Linked DNA regions of Homo sapiens: all the other regions are linked to region 2. Evidence: promoter capture Hi-C in human tissues and cell types (Jung and others, 2019). All regions are on one chromosome and are shown on one strand. The core of a region is centred on a gene start or on the middle of the fragment in contact, and the rest is flanking DNA. Distances in the headings are between cores, read along the strand shown.

What was found. The method cuts DNA at HindIII sites, captures the fragments that hold promoters and counts their contacts. A contact is called where the count stands out against the background at its distance.
Region 1: a contact is called between a fragment that was not itself captured here and the fragment with the promoter of NLGN1 in region 2, in 1 of the 25 tissues and cell types used here (hippocampus).
Region 3: a fragment that was not itself captured here is called in contact with the fragment with the promoter of NLGN1 in region 2 in 1 of the 25 tissues and cell types used here (dorsolateral prefrontal cortex).

What each region holds. Positions count from the first base shown.
Region 1 is chr3:173,727,328-173,730,367 of GRCh38, forward strand. The region is part of intron 3 of NLGN1 (neuroligin 1); the gene reads left to right. Among named protein-coding and RNA genes, the nearest start is that of NLGN1-AS1, 190 kb to the right of the region's middle. The HindIII fragment of the contact is 3,312 bases long and covers 1-2,935 here.
Region 2 is chr3:173,396,237-173,399,044 of GRCh38, forward strand. NLGN1 (neuroligin 1) reads left to right here and starts at 1,508. Exons shown (of 7, transcript NM_001365925.2): 1 at 1,508-1,827. RefSeq lists an enhancer at 1-276. The HindIII fragment of the contact is 5,603 bases long and covers 1-2,808 here.
Region 3 is chr3:172,992,912-172,995,611 of GRCh38, forward strand. All of the region lies in intron 4 of SPATA16 (spermatogenesis associated 16), which reads right to left. Among named protein-coding and RNA genes, the nearest start is that of SPATA16, 150 kb to the right of the region's middle. The HindIII fragment of the contact is 3,298 bases long and covers 1-2,700 here.

The sequences.
Region 1 (3,040 bases), core at 30-2,529, 330 kb after region 2:
ATTTTCCTTTGGAGACCAATATCTAGTTTTCAATTATTAAAAAGTAGAAAAATATTTATAAAGCACATCTTTCAATGCTACTCTTGTAAAATAATAGATTCTTGCAAATATCTTTCATTATGCCTGCCACTGACGTGCTAGAGTTGTATGCCCTTCTAGCACCTTAAACTATCTCCTGGAAATAATACTGACACAAAACCTAGACTTGGCTCTCACCATTTGCTGGGCATTTCCAAATGAACATTCTTTTGGTTGGAATTCACTCTAGCAAAAGCCAATTTTTAACCTTTCAGCTCTTGCCCAACCCACACACCTTGCAAGGGCTGTAGGGTCCCAGTCCACAAGTATATATATATACAAATTCTTTATCCTTTATTCATGGAAGGAAACATTCTGGCTCCTTTACAAATCCTTTATAGCTCAGAATTTCGGTTTAAAGTGACTTTTGAAATGAAGGCAGAATTATTCTCTGTATTTTTTGATGCTGCTAAGAAGGAATTTCCTCTTGCAATCAAAAAGAAGTACAGGAAGGCAATGGAGACAATAAACCAGGATTACTGGAGATGGTGTTTCCCACTGAGTTGCAGAAGGAAGTATTTGGGGGTAAGTGAATGGATCAGATCATAAAAGTCTATGCAGCTGATCTGAAGAACGTAGATTCTACTCTAAATAAATGGTGAATCATTGATGGCTTGGGGAATATGAACTGATATGAAAAAAATATAGGGAATTAATCTCTCAGCAGTTTGCCCTATGGTGGGAAAGTCTAGAGGCAAGGGTTAGTTTGAAGGTGGTTATACTCATGTTAGTGTGAGGCACTAAGGTTGGGTAGAATTCGAAGTGAGAGAGAAGAATGGATGTGAGAGATGTGTAGTAGAGAAAAATGACTAGACTTAGTGACAAGATGTAAGTGACAAATGAATAAGACGTGGCAAGACTATGAAAGTCCTAAGAAACATAAAAACAAACTGGTAGAAGATATCTTACAGGCAAATTTTGGCATATGGAAAAATAATGTGTTCACACTACCAGTCTAGGTGGACTTTGCATGTATGTATGGGAGGACAATATATAACAGAGGTGACTACCTCCTTTATACTCCATTGTGTTCTGACCTTTCCCTTGTTTTGGTTAAAGCCACGTGAGCTTTAGAATGGGCTAAATATCTATAGTGGGTTGAATAGTGCCCCCCCTCCAACAATTCATGTCAACCCCACACCTCAAAATGTGACCTTATTTGAAAATTGGGTCTTTTAAGATGTACTTAGTTCAGATGAGTCATGCTTGATTAGAGTGGGCCCTAAATCCAAAGACTGGTATCTTTGTAAGAGTAGAGGTGAACCAGATGGATGCATACGTATAGGGAAGAACAACATGTGAAAAACAGAAGCAGACATTTAAATGAGGCAGCTATAAGTCAAGCAATGCTAAGGATTGCTGGAAGCCCCCAGAAGCTAGGAAGACGCAAAGAAGGATTTTTTTCCCTAGAGTCTTCAGAGGGAGTATGGCCCTGCTGGCAGGTTGATTTCAGACTTCAAGCATCCAGAACTGTGAGAGGATAAATTTCTCTCATTTTAAGCCACCGAGTTTGTGGTAATTTGTTCCTGTAGCCCTAGGAAATTAATAACATATCTGAACTACAGCAAATAATAAACATTGAACCATCAGTATGTGCTAGACATTGTACTGAATACTTTATTCAGATTACCTGATGGAATCTTATTTTGCTGAGATGATTGTCATATACTTTTAAAATGAAAACACTAAGACTTTGAGGGGTTTTATAAACCCAGGTCATACTGGTAGTAATTTTTGAAACCAGGATTCTTAAAATATCAGTTGGACTTAAGAGCCACCAAGCAAGTTATCTCTCAGTCATTCCATCCACTGCTGAGCAATTCCCAGAAAATGTATTTTCAGCTTTAAAATTCTCGAAAAACAAAACAAAACACTTTTTGTTGAGTTCAGATTCATCAATGGATCAAGGATTCCTAACCCAGATAATACTTCTTGTTCCTATGTTTAGACTCCTTGGTCTTCTGTGAGCCTCTGAGTCTTTGGGCATTACAATAACTTCATTTTGTTTCCATCTATCCTAATTCTTTAGGCTTTGGTATCTAAAGATTTTTGTAATCTCTAAAATTATTTTACCCAGGGACATAAGTTGCGTGGATGGTTTAAAATACACACACTTACACAGATTTGAAGTCTTGGTGAAGCAATATGCAAAATTGTAAGCTTTTCTAATGATTCTTCTTAATTTATTATAATGCCTTTGATGGAATGCAAATCTGCAACGTGGAATTTCTGCTGCTTGTAAAAGAATAACATTGCTAAGTTTAATTTTTACGGAGAAATATTGACAGCATTGATAAAAGCTTAAAAATAGCTTTATTGTTATAGTTGTATATATTAAAGGTGAATGCATTGTCAAATGTCCAGGTCACTCACAATATAAATGTGTATGTGGTGGGACCCATACATTGGTGGTTCTGTAATCCAATCATAGAAAATTTTTACTGATTACCAATTTCCATATTCTGTCAAATGCTTCAAAAATTCCATTTTACATTTGCATATCTATTTGTTTCAGATATTTCACCTATGGGACTTAAAGTTTCTGAATAGGTCAGTGAGGCAGAATTTCCTCTTTTTGCCCTCTATCTCTGACTTGTGTTTGGTGCTAGAAAAATGCATTAATTCGAAATACAGAAAAAAAAACTATTTATTGAGTGCCTACTATTGACCAGGTATTATTTTAGATATTGAAAATATAACATTGGAAGGAGTTCAGTGCATATATGCTTATATATTATTATATATCAATATACATGATTATATATAAATTTATCAATTATATTGGAAATACCAGGATACAAGAGAAAGAGTAAAACAAAATTGTAGTAGGAAATATCTTGTAGATAATATCAGTGATTTCAGATCTAAACTTTCATGCCTCATGTTTTGAGGTCTAACACACTACTGCCCCACCGCTCCCCCCCCCCCGCAAAAATAGAATGAAAGCTACAAATTTGCACCA
Region 2 (2,808 bases), core at 258-2,757:
TTGGGTATTTTATTTTTAATTTTTTTCCTTCTCCCTCTAAATCTTCTCGGAAATTCTGCATATTGAAGCAGGTGGCTCCTGGTACGAAATCTCTGGATACATTTGGCTTGCCAAGTTTTGCTCTTCGCTGTCCCCTCCCGTTTACAGAAGCATCTGTGGTGCTTTTCATTTTGGATTTACATGCAGGAAACGTATATATGTTTATATACCGACCGCATAATATATAAATACATATACGCGTGCCCAAGGGCCTGGTTTTCGTCTCTCCTCCCCACGAAACGGAATGTTTTGGAGCCGATGGATAACAAGAACACTATTAACATTCTTTTGAGCCTGTTTTTTAAAAGGGGGAGGGAGCGTGAAGAATTGTTTAACATTTGGCCATCGTTTGGCTGCACACTAAGCACCACGAAGTATTTATGGTTGCAGATCAGGTGCAAACGGGGCTTAGAGAGAAAGGTAAGGGAGCTTCCTGCGTCCGCCGAGCTCCGGCGTTTACCTTAATCCCGGGGATTGCCGAGAACTTCCTATTCCCTGCCTCTCCTTCGCCTTCCCCACCTTCCACCCACCCTTCTCTGCTCTCTCTCTTCTGTAAACTCAACCCTTTTCCAATCCCATTGGGGTGGGGGTGGGGGGTGCTGGAGGTATAATCGTCTATTTGAGTTTAAATGCGTCTCTCTTTCCCAGGCTAGTAGCTGAGTTTTCCAATAGCCTTTCTGGCGGTTTTAGGAAATCGTGTCCTTTATAAAAAATAATGCTACCTAAATAAGTGTTTTAAACATCTGAAGATGCCAGTCCCTCACCCTATCCTCTGATGAAAATAAAAGCAATAAAAAATAATGAACTTTAATAAACTGGGTGGTTTTTTTTAAGCGTTGGGGTTCATGGAAGCTCCCAAACGCTTTTTTTCATTTAAAAAGAAAGATAACCAGCAAACAAACCAATCTCAGGAGGAGTCCACAGTGGAGGAGATTCGCCTTCCGTTTCTGCATAAAACCAATACATTTTACTTGGAGGGTAATTTGCCAGAGTTGAGCGAGACGAAGCCGTGTCTAAATAAGTACATGACACTAAATTTCCTTTTAAATCCACCTTTTACACCATGGCCAGTCGCTTGTTTAACTCCCGTTCAAGGGACACGGTTTTCAAACGTGACCTTTTGGGGAGATGTGGGAACTTCCCCTCATTTCTTCTTCTGTGCCGCTAACCTCTTTCCTCCTCCGCGCGGCATCTCCAGCCCCGGCAGTTTGTAAATTGCCCGTTTTGCCCACCCTCCTGGTGGGCGTTCTCTCCCCCACTCCACTCCTGCCCCCTCTGTCCTTTCTTCATTGGCGTCTTCGGAGCAGATGCATCTTCTTTCTTCTTGGCCTCACTCTCCCGTTCCCCCGTCAGTCCCCCCACCCGCGGCTCCCCACTTGCCCCAGCTCTCCTCGCCGCTCCTCCCCGCCTCCCCGCGGAGGGTTGACCCTTCAATTCGGAGTCCCGGCCTGTGGGCGGGCGGGGGAGCGCCGCGGCTGTAAGCCGAGGATCAGGCGGCGGCGCGGAGAGCGCGCCCGGGCGGCCAGCGCCGAGCGCGCGGAGCTGGCGTGGGGAGACACGGCAGGAAAGGCGAGTCGGAGTGGGTGATGAGAGGCCGGGAGAGCCCGTCCGAGCCGGAGAGACCGGAGAGAAGGGAGCGAGCGACTGTGCGGCGCTCACGCTGCCAGAGCCCGGGCGGAGTGCAGTCGCCTCCAAAGCCTTAGAGCGGCGCCCCAGTCACTGCAGCTCTTCACCCTAGAGCTGTGCCCTGGGACCACAGAGACCAAGAGCATGGAAATCGGCTGAGAGGTACAAAAGAAATAAGGAACAGATTACGAGAAAGCGGGGAGGGTTTCCTGGCGAAATACGGAGGCTGAGCAGATGGAGGAACAATGCCGCCTCCAGAAGAAAACCCTTGCCTGAACCCTCGGCGGAGCGCAGAGGAGCTGCTTTCAGCCTTCTGCTCTCCCCAGGCCCTCCGGCTAGTTCTGGGGTTGGTTCCGCCGGTTAGTTTGACAGGGATAAGAAAGTTGCTCTTCTTCCCCACAACGTTTCCTGAGAGGTGGTTTTCAGATCTGTGTGTTTCCAGTCAAGATGTCACTCCCTAGATCCCCCGCGTTGAGCAACTAATATATTATGCATTATTGGGCAATAAACTCTCCTGGGAAGAGAAGGTATTCCAAACATTTAAACCGTTCTCCACCGACTCCTGCCCGCCTCAACACAATGCCTTGTGAGTAGAAATGAAAAACCACCTGAATTTAAAATTATTTAGGTTGAGATTTTGCATTGGGAATAATTTCTTCCAGAGGAGGTTGTTAGTGTGTTATAGAGATGAGGGATATTACATGTCCAATATTTGATTCATTTGTGATAATTCTAAATCATGAACAGTTGGCCTCCACAAAGGTACTATTTCTTTTTGCATTTCCAGGGCCATAGTGATACATATAACACTTGGGAAACGTGAATTCGTATAGTTAACCCAGTATCTGTTACTCTGCATTTTTACAGGTAGTTAATATACTCATTTTCCCTCTTTTTATACTCAAACTCCGGTAGACTATTTTTGCTTAAGTCAATTGAGTTGTCATGCTGTACATGAAAATTACAGGGTCTTAATGCATTTCTCACCATTAATTGTGCTCAATTATTAATAGGATCATAGATATTAAAATGTCACTGAGAAAGGGTATGTGTACCTATGTTTGAGTGTAAAACCTATAAAATGTCTCAGCATTTCTATCAGCCATTGTAACCTAGCAGAACACAAGGTTTTTGAAATGAGCT
Region 3 (2,700 bases), core at 177-2,676, 400 kb before region 2:
GCAAAGTCTTTTACAGAAATCACTTGATAGAGGCAATTCAAAGACAATCTTTTGAGCAATTACACCTAAAATACAACAAACCCAGAAAAAGAATGTTTTGGAATCCCTACGAGAGTATCCAGACTACACTATTAGAGAGAGAATTCTCTTATCCCCCAGTGGTTGGGGCTTATCCCCAGTTCCTTGGCGAGGGATCCAGAGGCTGAAGATTGATCCCAAAACTGAGTGAACAGAAAGGTTACATTATGCAGGTTTAAAATCCAACCTTTGTTGGATTTTAAAATATTAGTGAAAAAAAAAAGAGAGAAAATGAAAATTAAATAGTGGCAAGTGACAGCTTGCCATTCTATTCAATAAGGTTAAGCTCACAGGCAATGGATGGAATCAGTCAAATCATCAATAATCAAATTTGAAACCTATTTTTAAAAATGTTTTTAAAATATGAGAAAGATGTAAGGGTTTCCTTGATCAATGGCAAATAAATCAAACATCTTGTGGGCAAGTGGGTGGTCCTCTAAGCCTTCCAGGAAAAAAAGTAGTAATTAATTGAGGGCCAAGGAAGAGTTTGTTGGACAGATAAAGTCATCTGTGAAAGACGGAATGATGATGATGAACAGCAAGAGCCAACAGGATAGAATCTGCATTACTTTGCTGAAGTATTCCAAGCAGAGAAATCCTTGAGTGACAGCTTCTGATTATAATCTTCCTGTGGCATAATTACAATAAATATTAAATGTTTATGTGAGCATATTTGTGTATAGGTTGTATACACAAAACAACACACATAGCAGCAGATGATACAAAAAACTTCTAAGGGTATTTCTGACATTACCTCTTTGCTTTTCTTCTCTTTCCCCCTCCCCCGCTTAAGATGCTAACCTCTTTGTACCATGCTGTTCTGCTCTATTCTTGTCTGGAATGCATGTTAGCTGGCCACCAGGAATCCCAGAAGACAGTTGGGGGGACTGAAGTCTTGTATTATTCTGGTGGGGATATAAGCTAGAATATTAACTTGTTGCAGTTCTTGTGATTTAATTTGTGTTCACATGTTAATAAGGCTTAGGGAAATTCAAGTCATGGAAGACATAGAGTAAAAGCCATAAACTTTTCATTACAGAGTCTGGGTCACATCATTCCCAATACTTTTGTTGACTTTTATAAAGGTCTGGAATAAGGAGCTCCCCTTTTATTATGTATTTTAATACACAGACACCTGTTCTAAGAAAATCTTACCTACTTTAGAATTAGATTCAAGATTTAGATACCAAGAGTATGTGACTCCTGGTAGGGAGCCCCCTTTGGAAGAAGAAACTCTTGGTGAATCAGTCAGTTCTAAACTCTCAAGAAACCCATGCTATTTTAAGTTCAATTAGCATTCACGGAATATCCACTAGTAGCTGTATAGGCAAGGCATAGAGATAGATAGCACAAAAAAAGAGGCGTTAATTCTACTGGGAGAAAGCAGAATCAGAGAAACCAGGGCAGATAGGTCCTGAGAAGGGCTTCAGAGGTGACCAAAGAGGAAAAAGCTATTTTGAGCACAGAAGATGGCATAGGCAAATGTGTGGAAGCATAAAATAACATGCTGTGCTTGGGGGGTATTTCAGTACTGAAATCTGTGTGTGTGTATGTGTGTGTGTGTGCACACGCACGTGATGGGAAAGGAGGCCAGAGTGACAAACAGGGTCTTAATTATAAGATAATTTTTAATTTTTTCTGGCCAGGAATTATTTTGTAGATTATGGAGAGCCATTTAAGGTAATTAATCTGGAAAGAGATGTGTTCAAATTTGTACTGCAAATAAAGCATACTGCACATACAGTTAACTTGCTTTAATAAATTAACAATATGGTGTGAATATATTCCACATTAGTAAATATTCATTTGTAGCATTAATTAAAATCTTTGCATTGTATTCTGTGGGCATTTTAACTTTTTAATTAATTAATCCCTTATGTTAGGCAGTTAGAATACTTGAGAGTTAAGTTTTTGAGACCAGTAAAAATTTAAGTTTAGAACATGTTTTGCTTGAAATGCCTGTAATACAGCCAAATGGGGGTGCTTGAATATTCAGATGGTGCTTGAATATAAAAGGTGGAGCTTGAGGGGAAAGATCTGAGAATGTAGACATAAATATGGGAATCATTAGTATATTGATTACTTAAAGTCAGAAGGGGATACTTAATGGACAAGGAAAAGAAAATGTGCAATTCTTTTTTAAAAAAGTAAAGGGGATAGAACCTTTGGAAATACTGTTTTTAGGCAGTGAGTTGAGTAATAAGAGATTGGGAAAGAAAAATCAGGGGGATGGGGTAAAATCTGAAGAGTATGATGTAGGAGGATCCAGAGGAAAAGAGAGAGTTGATTCCTATAACAACTTTTGGAGAAGTGAGACTAGGTAATACTATTATTATTATCTACTTTCCACAAAGGCTAGATGTCTTCTTGGGGCTAATACAATTGTAAACATTAAAACTGGATTGCTAATCCTGATCTTCTAGCTTCAATTCTAACAGAACTGGATTTTATGATTCAGGTAATTAAAGAAAGAGAGTATAAAAGAATAGCAGGATAAGCTTCAGAAGCTAAAATTAAGTTGGAATCTGTAGGAGATATAACGTATAGAAAAAGAACATGTTCTTAAATTAAAGCAGGCAAAGAAGGATATCCCAAAATAGGCTAGGAGAGAAAGCTGATAAA